Regions from separate parts of the Homo sapiens genome. Here region 2 is linked to region 1. Evidence: promoter capture Hi-C in 16 types of primary human blood cells and fetal thymus (Javierre and others, 2016). All regions are on one chromosome and are shown on one strand. Each heading gives the region's core, a stretch centred on a gene start or on the middle of the fragment in contact. The rest is flanking DNA. Distances are from core to core; before and after follow the strand shown. Region 1 holds the start of PRDM12 (PR/SET domain 12). Region 2 overlaps ASS1 (argininosuccinate synthase 1).

Region 1 (7,768 bases), core at 4,686-7,185:
CATGAGGCAGGAGATGGTCTGGATGGCAGCAGGTGGCCTCAGGGAGCAGCAGTCAGGGCACAGCCCCCTGACTCCAACCCCCTGTCTGCTCTGGGGCAATGCAGGGAGGACATTTCAGGTGGAATTGAGTGCAAGGTTCTGGAAGGCAGGAGGCGGCTCAGGGAAGTTGTGGAGGAAGGGCTGGGTGTGGGGTGGGAAGGGACTCGGGCAGAAGAGGAGGTTGTGAATGGGTCGGAGAGGGCTCCTTCTGGCTGCCCCTAGACCCACCAGAGGGGCAGGCAACAGAGGAGGGTGAGCTGGAGGCTGGAGGGGCCAGGGAAGACGGACAGGGAGGGCGCCTGCCTCCCACAGACCCCAACCAGCCTGCCCTCTTCAACCTTTCCCTGCTGTTTTCCCCAGGACTCCTTTTGCCCTCACACTCCAGTCTCTCTGTAGCACCCTGTTGCTCCCTCTTGGTGATCCAGCTCTTGAAAGCCTCTCCAGGCCTCCCGCTCTTTCGGAAGCCGTGCCTCTCCCCCTCTGCTTCCTTCATCTCCGAGTCTTTGTACCCCTGCGTCTCCGACTCGGCCTTTCATCTGCTCCCTCCACCTCGGCATCGCCTTGCCTCAGTCTCCCCCGACCCCTGTCTCGCCCCCTCTGCTTCCAGAAGCCTGCGCCTCTGTCTCTCCCACCGCCCGGTCTCCTGGTGTCCCCGGCGTCTCTCCCGTCGTTCCCGCCGCCTTGATCAGCCTGGGCTGTGGCGCTGGCATCGCTGGCCTGGGGACCGGGGTGTGGGCGATGGAAGGGGGTTCGAGAGGCGCAGGGGAGGGGCTTCCCCTCCTCCGCCCCTGGGCGCCTGGGGAGACTCGCGTGCCAGTCACCTGCCGGTCGGGGCGCCGACTTCGCGCCTACGCACTCCACGTGGGCGCCCCGGGGCGCGCCTTTGTCTCTCCCGAGCCTTGAAAGCTAATTACATTGGGAGGGGACAGGGGTGGGGTGGGAGAGGGGGCCGCTGTCCCCATTCACTGAGCCGAGGCCGCCACTCCGCCGGCAGCCCCGCGCAGGCCTGGCCCCGAGTCACGTCTGTTGAAACCGTTTTTTTCGGCCTCGCCCCCACCCGCCTTGGCAGCCAGCCGCGCCTTTGTACGCGCCGGCGGGGGCGCCCTGGAACCCTGAACCGTCTTACGGGGAACGGGGGTGGGGGGAGGGGAGCGGCGCGGGCCCCACGCGAGGAAGGAATTTCCTGGGCCACTGCGAAAGATTGAGGCTCAGAAAGCCAGAGAGAGACGTGCGAGGAGGAAGCGGAGAGGGTGTGCGAAGCTGGAGAGGGAGTCGGAGCGCCAGCGAAAGAGGGGAGCGCTGGGGAAGGAGGAAGAGAAGGAGAGGGGGAGAAGAGAGACGCGGATGCTGGGCGCGCGACGGCAGCGGGCGGAGGAGGGGAGCGGCCGGGAACCTGCGCGCAGGGGAAGCCAGGACGGAGCGCAGCACCGGCAGGGGAGGGTTGCCGAGGGGCTGTGCCGAGGAGCCCGGGTGGGGGCGGCTGGACCGCGGGCCGCGGGACTCACAGACAGTGCGAGGCGGCGCGGGGGCCCCTCTCCCTATGCGGGGCTGGGGCGCAGGGGCTGGGCGGGGCGGGTGGGCGTCTGAGCGCGGCGCGGGCGCATTCTTCGCCTTTTCTTCCTCGGGCTCATTCCGGCCGATCGATACCTGCGCGGGACCTGCCCCCGCCGCTAATATCTTTTTAATGAGTTCGCCAGGCTTAAAGCGAGCGCGATCTGCCCTCCAGGGTGGATTTTCCCCCGGCAGATGTTTCGGGAGGAGGAGGCGCGCGGAGCTCCCGGGAGGGGGGACAAATCTCTCCCTCCGAGGGGCGAGAACAGGAGACTTTCTTCTAAAGTTCAAAAGAAAGACGGGCTTTCACTCGGCCCCCAAAAATGTATTTCTCGGCGGACAATGGGCTTCTTTCTGCGCCTCTGAGGGCCGGCGGGGCGGGCAGGGCGGGGACCCGTGCGCTTTGGCCCCGCCTGACCGACTCGCACCCCCCTCCCCCGCACCCAGGCCCGGGCCCCAGAGCGAGGGCGCAGGAGCCGCGAAGCCGGCCGCCCTTCCGAGCGTCCCCCTGAAGCGCACTGTCGGGACCTGGCTCTCCCGGAGCTAAGCCCCGGCGCACCGGCGAGAACGAAAGCGTCGTGCGGGGCCCTGGGCTGTCCCACACGCCCCCGTTCTCATAGGTGCCTCAGCCGGGCCGAAGGGACGCGCGCTGGTGCCTCAAGGGGAGGACGAACGGACCTCCGGGCTTGGGCCGCGGCCTCCTTCCCCTCGGCGCTCCGCCCTGAGCGGGGCAACAACTAGAAATTAGCCAACCCCGGGCGGCTGCCGGGCCCTGAGACTGTCTTGCCCGCCCCGGCCCAGCCACCCCTCCGGGTCGCCCCTGCTCTTCTCCTCCACTTCCCCTTCAATGTCCCTCCGTGGGGCCGTCGGCCTGCCGCGGCGGCCCTCTCTCCACTCCCGTGGGCTCAGGGGAAGAGGGCACCCGGGCGGCGAGGATGACCTCCGAAGAGCCGCGGCAAATTGATTCGTTCCGCCCGGAGCCGGGGCCGCGTGAATGGGGGCCCGGGCGGCGGCGGCAGCGGAGAAGAGGATAAAGATGTTCTCCCTGAAAGGGGGAGGGGGCGCGGAGCGGGAAGCGGGGCCATTCACTCCTGGCCCGGCCCCTCGGGAAGCCGCGCCGAAGAAAGGGGGCCGAGGCCTATTCAAGTCCTACGAGCCGCCCACAATGGACCGATATACTGAGGGCCTCTCTATTAACGCCCATGAATATTAAAGAGATCGCCAAGTGGCGGCCAGCGGGCGAGGGGGGCGACGGAGCCTGAGAGCTCCGGCCCGGCCGAGGGGAGGGGGCTTTTGCGCGAGCACATTCCGCGCCTGGGCCCCGCGGAAAATGACAAAATAACACGGGTCATCCGCTGGGAAAGCCCGGAATGTTTCCCCTCGAAATCTCCTCCCGGGGAGATGTGAGCACAGGGTCTTGCTCCCTATTTCAATGCACCTTGAGACTGGGCGCTACCTACGGGCTCCTTTTTCCCCGGGCGGGGGTCCAGGTGGGTTTTGCCGCTAGACTAGAAGCACAAAATGTGAGCGCGGTGGAGATTTGGGCGCACCAGCTGGGAGGACGTTCTGCGCTCCGCTTCTGCCCGGCTCCCAGTACTGCTCTCCGGGCTTGCGGGTCCGGAGGAGAGGAATGGGACTCCCTGGCCGCAGTCCGAGCCCGTGGTCACTGCGCCAGCGGAATCCAAGCCTCTAACTCTAAGCCGGGGTTCAGGACCCAAACGCTGCACCCCAGCACGGAGGATGCACAGACCTGAGGGCTTCCCGCAGTGGGACGTGGCCCTGGAGAGGGCAAAATCCTCGGGGTTGTCGTGGGGTAAAGTGATCTTACCCAAAGAGAGACCAAGCAAAGAAACCTCAGTTCACAAAGTCCAACTCAAACCATTGCACAGACAGGGACACCGAGGCCCAGAGAGGAAAGGGGCAGTCCACAGGACACACAGCAGTCCTTATCCCCCTTTGGTGTCCTGGAGGAACTGAGGTCGCTTTCGGGGCTTGGGAGCTGCCGCAGCGCTTGGCTCCTGGCAGCGCTCCCCGACGTCGTCTCCCTCGCTCCTAGCACTTTGTCCTCTCCACCTAGGTCTTCCCAGAAGCCAAGAAGTAGGCCCCGGTGAGGCTCCCCTGCAGGAGCCATCGGACTCCATACGCCCCCTCAGACTCGAGCTCTGGCCAGGGAGCCGATGCGACCCACAAGCTGCGTCGAAAAATGAGTGGAGGGTTCGGCGACCCTAACCCACCTCCCTCCTCAGCAGCGCTGCCCTCTGCTGGCGCCCTGCCCAACGGTCCTGCCTTCTGCCAGGTGTGCCCTTCCTTGGGCTCCAGCCTCGGGCGGACCCGGACGCAGGGTCTGAAGGCCAGCTACCGCCGCCTTCCTCCCTTTGCGTCCCAACGGGGACGGGGGATGCCGGAGACTACTGGCAGGAACTGGGGACCAGGGGTCTGGAGTCTGGACGCCAGGTGTGAGACCCTCTTAGCCAAGGCGCGTCCGGGTGGTGGAGGGGCGTCTATGCCAACAGGCGTTTGGACAGGGTCTCGCTCATGGGAGGTCAGCTCGCTGTTCTTCCACCCAAGTCCTCCGCGCTGAGGAGAAGGTCTAGGGAGTCCACACAGTCCAGCGGAGACTAATCCGTGAGCCTGACCCACGCCGAGAGGGTCCAGGCACCTCTGTTAGCGGCATCTGAAATTGTAGGCTGGTGATGGGAGCCAGAAGTGCGGCAGGTGGGGTGAGCTCCCTCACCCAGCATGTCAGGGCCTGGGGTCCGAGGCTTGAGGCTGACACTGGGGAGCCGCGAAGCCTGCAGGAAGCGGGGCCTTCCGCTGGGCTCAGCAGCTACCTGCTTCGGGAGAGGGGATCGCTGGGCTCCGAGGTGCCTCGAAACCGCCGCAAAGCAAGTCTGCTCCTGGGATGATGGGCAGGAGGAATAGAGGAGAGGAAGGGAAAGAAGAGAGAGGCAGAGGAGAAAGAAAGAACTAGGAGGCAAGAAGGAAGGGGCGCCGCAACGCCACCGGCTTCCCGAGGTTGCAGCTCAGCAAGGAGCCGGAAAGCCGGGCCGCAAGCCGAACCCGCACTGAGGCCTCTCGCGGAGCTGCCTGCAGTTTCTGAGGGACTTCGCTCTCAGGCACGCCTGCTCCCACCTAGGAAGGGTCTCGGGACCCCTTTCAATCCCCCTATATCCCGTAGGAAATTCTTTTCCCAGAGACAGGCTGCCAGGGCGATTCCTGTCCGCCCATCTCGACCCCCGACCTGGCCCCGCAAGGGCCGGGAGCCTGGCCTTCCATGAAGCTGTCTCAGGCCGGGACCAGCCCCAGCCCCGACGGCCGCTGCGGCCCCGCCTCGGCAGCCCCGTGAGCCCGCGGAGGAGTTTCGCACCCGACCGTGCACAGCGACCGAGTTGGCGCGGCCCGTATGAAGCGAAGCGCCGGCTTCAGCAGCGCAGTCTGAGCAGGGGATCCGCGTGGCAACTAGGGCTGCGCGCGAGCTCGGGGCGACTGTGGCGGCCCGGGGAGTGCAGGGCCGGAGAGGGAAGAGGACGCGGGCTCTGGCCGGGGAGGGAGAGCGGTGCAGGGCTGGGCCGGCCAGCCGGGGCAGCAAAGTAAAGGTGAACGCCGGGCTGGGCCAGGCCGGTGAACATAGATCAGGCCTGAGGGGAGCGCGGGGCCCGAAGCCAGGCGTCCCCTCTTGTCTAGCCTGGTCCCTGGAGTCCTAGAGAGCCTCGCCGCACCCCCTCCCCTTCTCCGTCCCCTCCTCTCCTCAGAGCCGGCTGAGCCTCCCTCCCTGCCCTGCGCTTCCCACGGGGAGAGAAGGAAAAACAGGAGGGGGGAGGAAGGACCAGGAAGGGGAGAGAGGAGTGGAGGGGTACTGTTTGGAGCGGTCCGCGCGCCCCCGCCCCTCGCGCTCTCGCGACGAAGGCTCCTCGAGCCCAGCCGGGTACAACAAGTCTGTCCTCCGACGTCAGGGGGTCATTAATAACCAATTAGGAGGGTCACTGCGGCTCCTATAAAGGCGCTGAGATTTTGCCAAGGGGAAGACGGCCCCGGCCGAGTGTGCGAGAGGCTAGCGCGCGCCTGAGCCCCTTGCTGCCGCTTCCCTGCAACCACCCGCCTCTCACCCACCCTGCACCCCCCGCACCCGCCTCCGCCTCCACCCGCGTCTCTCCACCCTCCGCGCCGCCTTTGCCATCTCTACAGATTTCACCATCTCTCTTCCCCTCTCCCCCTCGTTCGCTTTCCTCCCAGTCGCCCCCTCACCTCCCGCTCCCTCCTGCGTCCTCCTCCTCTCCGTCCTCCCCCTGCTCTGGTTCCTTCTCCATCGCAGCGCTCTCCTCTCGCCCCTTGGGCTCCCCTCTCGCCCGCCCACCTCCCCCGTCGGCCCGGCCGTCCCCCGGCGCCGGGGAGCTCCGGGCCGCCCATGATGGGCTCCGTGCTCCCGGCTGAGGCCCTGGTGCTCAAGACCGGGCTGAAGGCGCCGGGACTGGCGCTGGCCGAGGTTATCACCTCCGACATCCTGCACAGCTTCCTGTACGGCCGCTGGCGCAACGTGCTCGGGGAGCAGCTCTTCGAGGACAAGAGCCACCACGCCAGCCCCAAGACAGCCTTCACCGCCGAGGTGCTGGCGCAGTCCTTCTCCGGCGGTGAGTCCAGCCGTCGGAGCCCGGCGCAATCCCTCCTCCCGGCGACCCCCATTCCCGTCCTGGCGATGCGCGAGACGCGGCTGGGATACCCGGCCTCGCTGCTACTCGCGCCAACCTGGGCTCTCCCGGCGCTCGGTGCACCTCAGTTTCCCCATGGGCCAAACCAGGACGCGAGCCACCAAGCAGCTCCGCAGCCCACCCGGCTCAAGGACCGACCCCGGCGACCCCGTCGCTCGGCCCCGACGCCCCCGCCGGCCCCTCCCTTCCCCTCCTGCGCTTGAGCTGGCGGGTTCCCGGCATTTACAGCCTTACTAGGCGTGTAATAGCAGTTGACTCAAAAAGAAGGGGTTTTAAATTCATTTAGTTAACTTGGGCTTGACCCACGAAAGTTCCCACTTAAACCAAGAACTTTAAAAGGCAGCCGGGGCTGGGGAGGGGGTGGAGGGAGGGCGGGCGGGGAGAAAAAGCCGCGGGGAGAGCGAGGGAGAGAAAGAGAGAGCGAGAAAAGTTTCTTTTCTTTAAGATGTCTCAAGTTCTTATTCCTCATTCATCAACCCGCAAACAATATCTTTCCCTGGCTCTGGCATCTCTGCGCGTCGCCCTCTTTTCCCCCTTTACGATTTCTGTTCCTCTCTTAATTTACCGTGAAGACTAATTCCACTTCCATTCACGCTATGTCAACCATCTAATCCCCCTTTTTTGTAAGGGGAATTCCTCGGCCCCTTTTAAACAAGTCCCCTCCGCATTGAGCTACAATTTACTGCTACAGCATTCTTCCAGGGCTAATGAATTTAGAATTAGCAATTTCTTTCGAATGGAGCCGAATGAATGCGATCACTTTAACAGCGTGACAAATTGCCCGCCGCGCCGCAATGGACACCGTTTAACCCCCCCCTTTCAGCCGGCCCGCTCGCCGGGTATTTTCCCAGGTAGCTTAGAGGGGAACCTTGTAAGACATGGAGGCCGCCCTTGTGCGCCTCGCCGCTTCCAGCCCTGCCGCAGATGCCCGACAGGGGAACCCTCGGGGAGCTGGGGGCCGCCGCGGCTCCTCCCCGCCCAGAGAGATGACATCGGGGTTTGTCTGAGCCCGGGCGCCGCCCTCCCTGGCACCCCAGGGCCTGGGAGCAGAGAGGGACTCGGGCGCGCCCGGGGTCACACAGCGAGCGCAGAGCCTGGCCAGCTGCTGCCGGTGCTTCTTTGGCACCTCCAACACCTGCCAGCCCGAGGTCTGTCCCCAGCGCTGATCACGGCCCGGCTCCTCTGCCAGTGCCCAGAGCCTGGACACACAGTGGGCTCCCGGAAGCCGACTAGGCGAAAGAGTCTCCGGTTGGCCTTCACCTCCTTGCAGGACCTGGCCTCAGTTTCCCTGTGCATAAAACCGCTCGCTGCCGTTGGCTCATTAATTCTTAAACTTATCCGGGGCAGAGGATGGAAGAAGTTGCGAATGCTTTGAGAATTCGCGGAGAGACTAAAAACCCACTTCTAAAAATGATCCCCAACGCACCACTCGCTTTCCAGGGCACGGAGGGTCTCCAGGTTGCAAACAGAGG
Region 2 (6,127 bases), core at 3,628-6,127, 210 kb before region 1:
TGTCTTGAACTGGAACTAGGAAAATAGCTTCTCGTTGTACTGCCTCACTTTCTCCATCTGCAAATTGGCCATCCTTGAGATGCCTTCCAGAGCCAGGTGATGGAGGCGCGGGGAGGGCACAGAAGTGAACTTGGCAGTGCTGCTGGCTTAGCCTGCTTGCAGAGAGGCATGGGCTGGGACCTGCTGCCAGCCCTGGGAAGGCACACAGTCTTCCCATCTCCAGAGTATGCTGTCAGCCTGCAGTAATTCAGCAAAGATTGTGGAATCCTGAGCTGGAAGGACCCTGGGGGATCACCTGGTTCTGGGATGGGAAATAGGTCACAGGTGATGGGTTATGTGTGAAGCCACTTCCTCATCCAGGGCCCATAGGAGTCATCCCTCTCAAACTAGCTCCTCTTCGACTGAACCTGGCCACAGCTCTGAGTCCTTCTCTGTGTGGCTGTGCTGTTCAGGACTCTTAGGTGCAAATTTTAGAAACTGAACTCAAACCAACTTACGCAAAAAGGAAAGGGAAAAGACAATTCTTGGCTCACACAACTGAGAACTCCAGGGGTAGGATGGCTTCAGGCAGGGCTGGATCCAGGTGCTTCTAAGATCTATCTCCAACTCTACTTGGCTTCATTCTTGGCCTCTCCACAGGGCAGGCAAGGCTCATGGTCACCCTCATAGCCCACCTTTCCCAAAAAGGAGGGCTTACCCCCAGTAGGGCCCATGGGGACCCACCACGCATTAGTCCCTATGGCTGCATCATGGGGTGCGAGGCTTGGGCCATGAGCCTACTCCTTCAGTGGGCGGGATTTCTTCCTCTCCATCCCTGTGGAATGGGGTCCACCCAGGAAAGAAGGTTCTGTTTCCAGAGGAAGTGAGCCTGGGTCTCTGGACAGACAAAACTTAGCTCTTGCCAAAAGTGGCTTGTTTGCCGGCATATTGGCATGTCTAACTGCGCCCAATGCCCTTGTCATTCAGGTTGGGGAAAGTGAGGCCCAGGGGAAGAAATACTTTGCTCACAGTCACCTGGTGGGTGAGAGCACAGCTTTGAGGGGCTGCAAAGAGCCCAGGGTGTATCCATCTCACTGTAGGTAGCACAGCGGGGCAATCAGAGCTGGAGCTGGGCGTATAGACCCCTGGGCTACCACCTGGGGGATTTAAAAGCTGAATGTGATTCAGATAAGCACCTGCAGCTGGGCTTTGGCAAGATTCCAGGGTCTGGTGAGCCGAATGAAGGGAGTGAGGGCTGAGGCCAGGATCTGGGCAGCAGGCCAGAGTCCAGGCAGCAGGAAACATGGCAGTGTCTAGACAGGGGCTGTCAGACCCCGAGGTCAGGGCACTGGCCACAGGGACGGAGCTGGAAGTTCCTGAGCACGGGCTTCTCTGCCTCCCGCCTCTCAGCTGCCTCAGGATGGCCAAGGCATGGCCTTTGACTAGGGAGGAGAGCTGGAGGCTAGGAAGGCCCTGACAAGCTAATCTTTGCACTGGCTGAGAAAGAGTTTTCTGGAAAAGACAGATGAGTTTCAGGAGAACCCTAGACCTTCCAGCAATGACAGCAGATGGTTGTCTCCCAGCAGCCTGTGTGGCCAGGGCCAGGCTCAGCCAATGCTCCAACCCATGGAAGCCACCAGCCATCACCACGCTACAATCCAGCTCCCAATCTCACCTCCTGGAAGAATCTCACCTCTCCAGGCCTTGGGCTTTGTCCTTTTTCCTTCTTACTGTGACTTGGCCATGGAATGGAAGCTGTCTCTGTAGCAGGGGGTGGGAGGCTGCTGCATGCGGATGGTGTGAACTCAGGGCTCCCCCCAGGGGCTGACGGAGCCTCTCCGCTTCTGCTTCTCAGGCCAACATTGGCCAGAAGGAAGACTTCGAGGAAGCCAGGAAGAAGGCACTGAAGCTTGGGGCCAAAAAGGTACCAGGCGGGAGGCAGGGATTTGGGCTGGGAGTGGGGCGGTGATGTGGAGGGCAGTGGTGGATGCTCCTGCCCCAGGGATCCCATCCCTTCCAGTGTGTCTTCTTGCTTCTAAGAGTATGAGATCATCCTGCTCTCAGGTGTGTGAACCCTCTTGTTTTTCTGCCTCCCCCACGCCCTCTTCCACCCACCCACCTTCCCATCCAGGTGGAGTGTCTCTTCCCCACCCACATACCTTCCCTTCTCTTTTATCTCTCTGTCCATCTATGCACCCACTCACCCTCTTTTATCTCTGTTTATCTACTCGTCCACATATCCATCCATCATTCATCCCTCCATTAGCTATCCATCGATCCATCCATCCATCCATTCAGCCATCCATCCATCCATCACCCACCCATCCATTCACCCATCATCCATCCATCCATCCATCCATCACCCACCCATCCATTCACCCATCATCCATCCATCCATCCATTCATCCATTCATCCATCATCCATCCACCCATCCATCCATCACCCATCCACTCATCCACCCATCCATTATCCATCCATCCATTCATCCATCCATCCATCATCCATCTATCCATCTATCCATCCATCCTCCGTCCATTCATCCATCATCCATCCATCCATTCACCCATCATCCATCCATCCATCATCCATCCATTCATCCATCATCCATCCATCCATCCATTCACCCATCATCCATTCATCCAGCCATCATCCGTCTATCCATCCATCATCCATTTATTCATCCATCATCCATCCATCCATCCATCATTCTTCATCCTTCCATGCATCATCCATTCATCCATCCATCATCTACCCATGCATCCATCCATCATCCATCCGTCTATTCATCCATCCATTCATCCATCCATCATCTATCCATCCATCCCATTATCCATTCACCCATCCATCCCTTCATTATCCATCCATCCATCCACATATCCATCTGTCATTAATCCCTCCACTGTCTATCCATCCATTCATCCAGACAGCCAGCCATTCATCTATCCATCCCCCATCCATCCATCCATCCTTCATCCATTCACCGTTTTTCTATCCATCCATTCATCCATCCATCCATCTGTCATCCATCATCCATCCTTCTGTCCATCATCCCCCTACCTGTCCTTCCCTCTTTTATCTCTCTGTCTACCCATTCTTCCATTCATTCAACAGAATCAGAGAACTCCAATTGAGTCTGGTGCCTTGATTGTGAATCTAGGCATGTGGCAGGCAGACCCCTGTCCCATACAGGGCATTTATGATGAACAGTGTCATCAGGACCCCTGCTCACATGTGCTCACTCCCCATGGAGAAGCCCTTGCCACTTGTGCCCCTTCATTTGGGAGAGTGAGCAGGGGACATAGCAGGGATGATGTGCAAGGCCACCAGCCCACCTGCAGGGTCAGAGCTGATCCCCTCTGTGGGGTGCTTCTGCAGGGTTGCCAGGGTAATTAGCATGTTAAAATGAACACGGGAGGGAGTGGATGCCCCAGTCCCAAGTCACCTACTGGCCACAGGCCTGGAACTAGAATGTCCCTCCTTGGTTCTGTGCCTCCCGAGTGCTGGAGAGCAGAGGGGTTGTCTGAGCAGTAGTCCAGGAAGGGGAGAAAGAGCCCTGAGTGTTGAAGATTCGAGTGCGCTTTCAGCAGCGCAGGAGCAGGCTTTGTGCACGGCTTCAGCTTTTGTCCTTTATTCTAGATGAGCAGTTCTCAAAACTTGTGGTCTTGGGAATCCTCTACACTCTAATTTACGTGGCGTTTTTAATGTTTATTTTCTTGCATATAACATTAGGATGGGCCAGGCACAGTGGCTCACGCCTGTAATCCCAGCACTTTGGCAGGCTGAGGCAGGCAGATCACCTGAGGTCAGGAGTTCAAGACCAGCCTGGCCAACATGGTGAAACCCTGTCTCTACTAAAAATACAAAAATTAGCTGGGCGCGATGGTGGGTGCCTGTAATCCCAGATGCTCGGGAGGCTGAGGCAGGAGAGTCGCTTGAACCCAGGAGGCGGAGGTTGCAGTAAGCTGAAATCACACCATTGCACTCCATCCTGGGCAACAACAGCAAAACTCTGTAAAAAAAACCAACCAACCAACCAAACAAACACAAAAACACATTTATCCTAATGTTTTTTATATATCCTTAGTCCCAATTGCTTTCTTTTCTATGCCTTTTTATTTCATTTTTTAAAAGGATTTTTTTCAAAATAATTATAGACACAGGAAGTTGCAAAAGCAGTACCAAGAATTTCTCGACTCTTAAAAATTATTGAAGGCCTTGGCTGGGTGCGGTGGCTCACGCTTGTAATCCTAGCACTTTGGGAGGCTGAAGTGGGCAGATCTCTTGAGGTCAGGAGTTTGAGACCAGCCTGGCCAACCAGCCTAGTTTCTTTAGTAGAGAAACCCCACATGCCTGTAGTCCCAGCCACTCGGGAGGCTGAGGCAGGAGAATCACTTGAACCCGGAAGGCAGAGGTTACAGTGAGCCAAGATTGCACCTCTGCACTCCAGTCTGGATGACAGAGAGTCCATCTCAAAAAAATAAAAATTACTGAAGGCCTTAGAGAGCTTTTGTGGATTACATCTGTTGATATTTATCACATTAGAAATAAAAGCTGAAATGTTTTAAATGAACAGTTCATGTTAACATAAGTAACATTACACTTATGAAAAATAACTATTTTCTCAAACAAAAAATTTTAGTTAAGAATCTTATTGGCTTCCATTTTTGCAAATCTCTGTAATGTCTGGCTTGACAGAAAACAGATGGACTCTTGTAGCGGTTTTCTGCATTCACTTGTTTTTTCGTTTGTTTGTTTGTTTTTCTTTTTTAGCCTCCCAGGGCTTCCTCGCTATGTGATGCCTTGTTTTATTGAAGTTTATGAAGAAAACTGGGCAACACAGTGAGATCCCATCTCTACAAAAAATAAAAAACTTAGCCGGGCGTGGTAGCACATGCCCGTAGTCCCAGCTACTCAAGAGGCTGAGGTGGGAGGATTGCTTGAACCCAGGAGGTTGAGGCTGCAGTGAGCTAGGATCACACCACTGCACTCCAGTCTGGATGACAGAGAAAGACCCTGTCTCAAAAAAACAAAAAAAAAGTTTTCACTCAGTGTCTCCCTGAAAAGTCATTGGGAACCCCTGGGGGTCTACATTTCAAGAACCATTCCTCTGGATCGGGGTTTCTCAGTCTTGGCCTTGTTCCCGTGTGGCTGGCCGTCCTGTGCACGGGAGGATTTTAGCAGTATCCCCATAGCCTTTACCCACTAGATGCCAGAATTCCACCCCCCACCTGGTAGTTGTGGCAACCAAAAATATCTCCAGATACTTCCAAATGCCTCCCCTACTCCCACCCCCAACAGGGACAAAACCGTCTCTGGTTGGGAACTACTGCTGTGAGATCTTAGGTGACAACTAAGTTTCATCTTGTTGGGGCTGATTTAGAAGCCACATCCAGTTTCACAGAACGGTGCATCAGGATTGATTAGCAGGCTGGCCGCGGTGGCTTGTGCCTGTAATCCCAGCACTTTGGGAGGCCGAGGCAGCTGGATCACCTGAGGTCAGGGGTTCAAGACCAACCTGGCCAACATGGTGAAACCCCGTCTCTACCAAAAATACAAAAATTAGCAAGCCATGGTGGCATGCGCCTGTAATCCCAGCTACTCAAGAGGCTGAGGCAGGGGAGTTGCTTGAACCTGGGAGACGGAGGTTGCAGTGAGTTGAGACTGAGCCACTGCACTCCAACCTGGGCAACAGAGCAAGACTTCGACTCAAAAAAAAAAAAAAAAAGAGAGCTATTGATTAGCAATGTCTGCCATGAGTGCAGGAGGGAGAGTAACAGTGCAGTGTGCTGGGATTGATGAATGATGTCTACTACAGATGCAGAAGAAGAAGCACCAGGTACAGCGGGGGTGGCCCCGTATAGGTCTCAGCTAGCTGAGGCCCCTGGGGCTCTGTATGCCAGATGGCCCCTGTCCTTGCCTACTTCTTCCTTCTGGGCTCCTCTTCCCGTAGGTGTTCATTGAGGATGTCAGCAGGGAGTTTGTGGAGGAGTTCATCTGGCCGGCCATCCAGTCCAGCGCACTGTATGAGGACCGCTACCTCCTGGGCACCTCTCTTGCCAGGCCCTGCATCGCCCGCAAACAAGTGGAAATCGCCCAGCGGGAGGGGGCCAAGTATGTGTCCCACGGCGCCACAGGAAAGGTGAGGCA

Evidence for each region. Contacts are between HindIII fragments. The CHiCAGO score rates a contact against its expected background, and 5 or more counts as called.
Region 2: a contact is called between a fragment that was not itself captured here and the fragment with the promoter of PRDM12 in region 1, in 6 of 17 cell types (megakaryocytes, erythroblasts, M1 macrophages and 3 more). The highest score is 7.6, in megakaryocytes.

Annotation. Positions count from the first base shown.
Region 1 is chr9:130,658,659-130,666,426 of GRCh38, forward strand. It overlaps PRDM12 (PR/SET domain 12), which reads left to right and starts at 5,936. Exons shown (of 5, transcript NM_021619.3): 1 at 5,936-6,218. The coding sequence starts at 5,996. RefSeq lists enhancers at 4,378-5,219, 6,510-7,183. The HindIII fragment of the contact is 14,404 bases long and covers 1-7,768 here.
Region 2 is chr9:130,452,471-130,458,597 of GRCh38, forward strand. ASS1 (argininosuccinate synthase 1) reads left to right here. Exons shown (of 15, transcript NM_054012.4): 3 at 1,835-1,903; 4 at 5,931-6,119. Among named protein-coding and RNA genes, the nearest start is that of ASS1, 11 kb to the left of the region's middle. RefSeq lists an enhancer at 1,013-1,513. The HindIII fragment of the contact is 5,982 bases long and covers 1,887-6,127 here.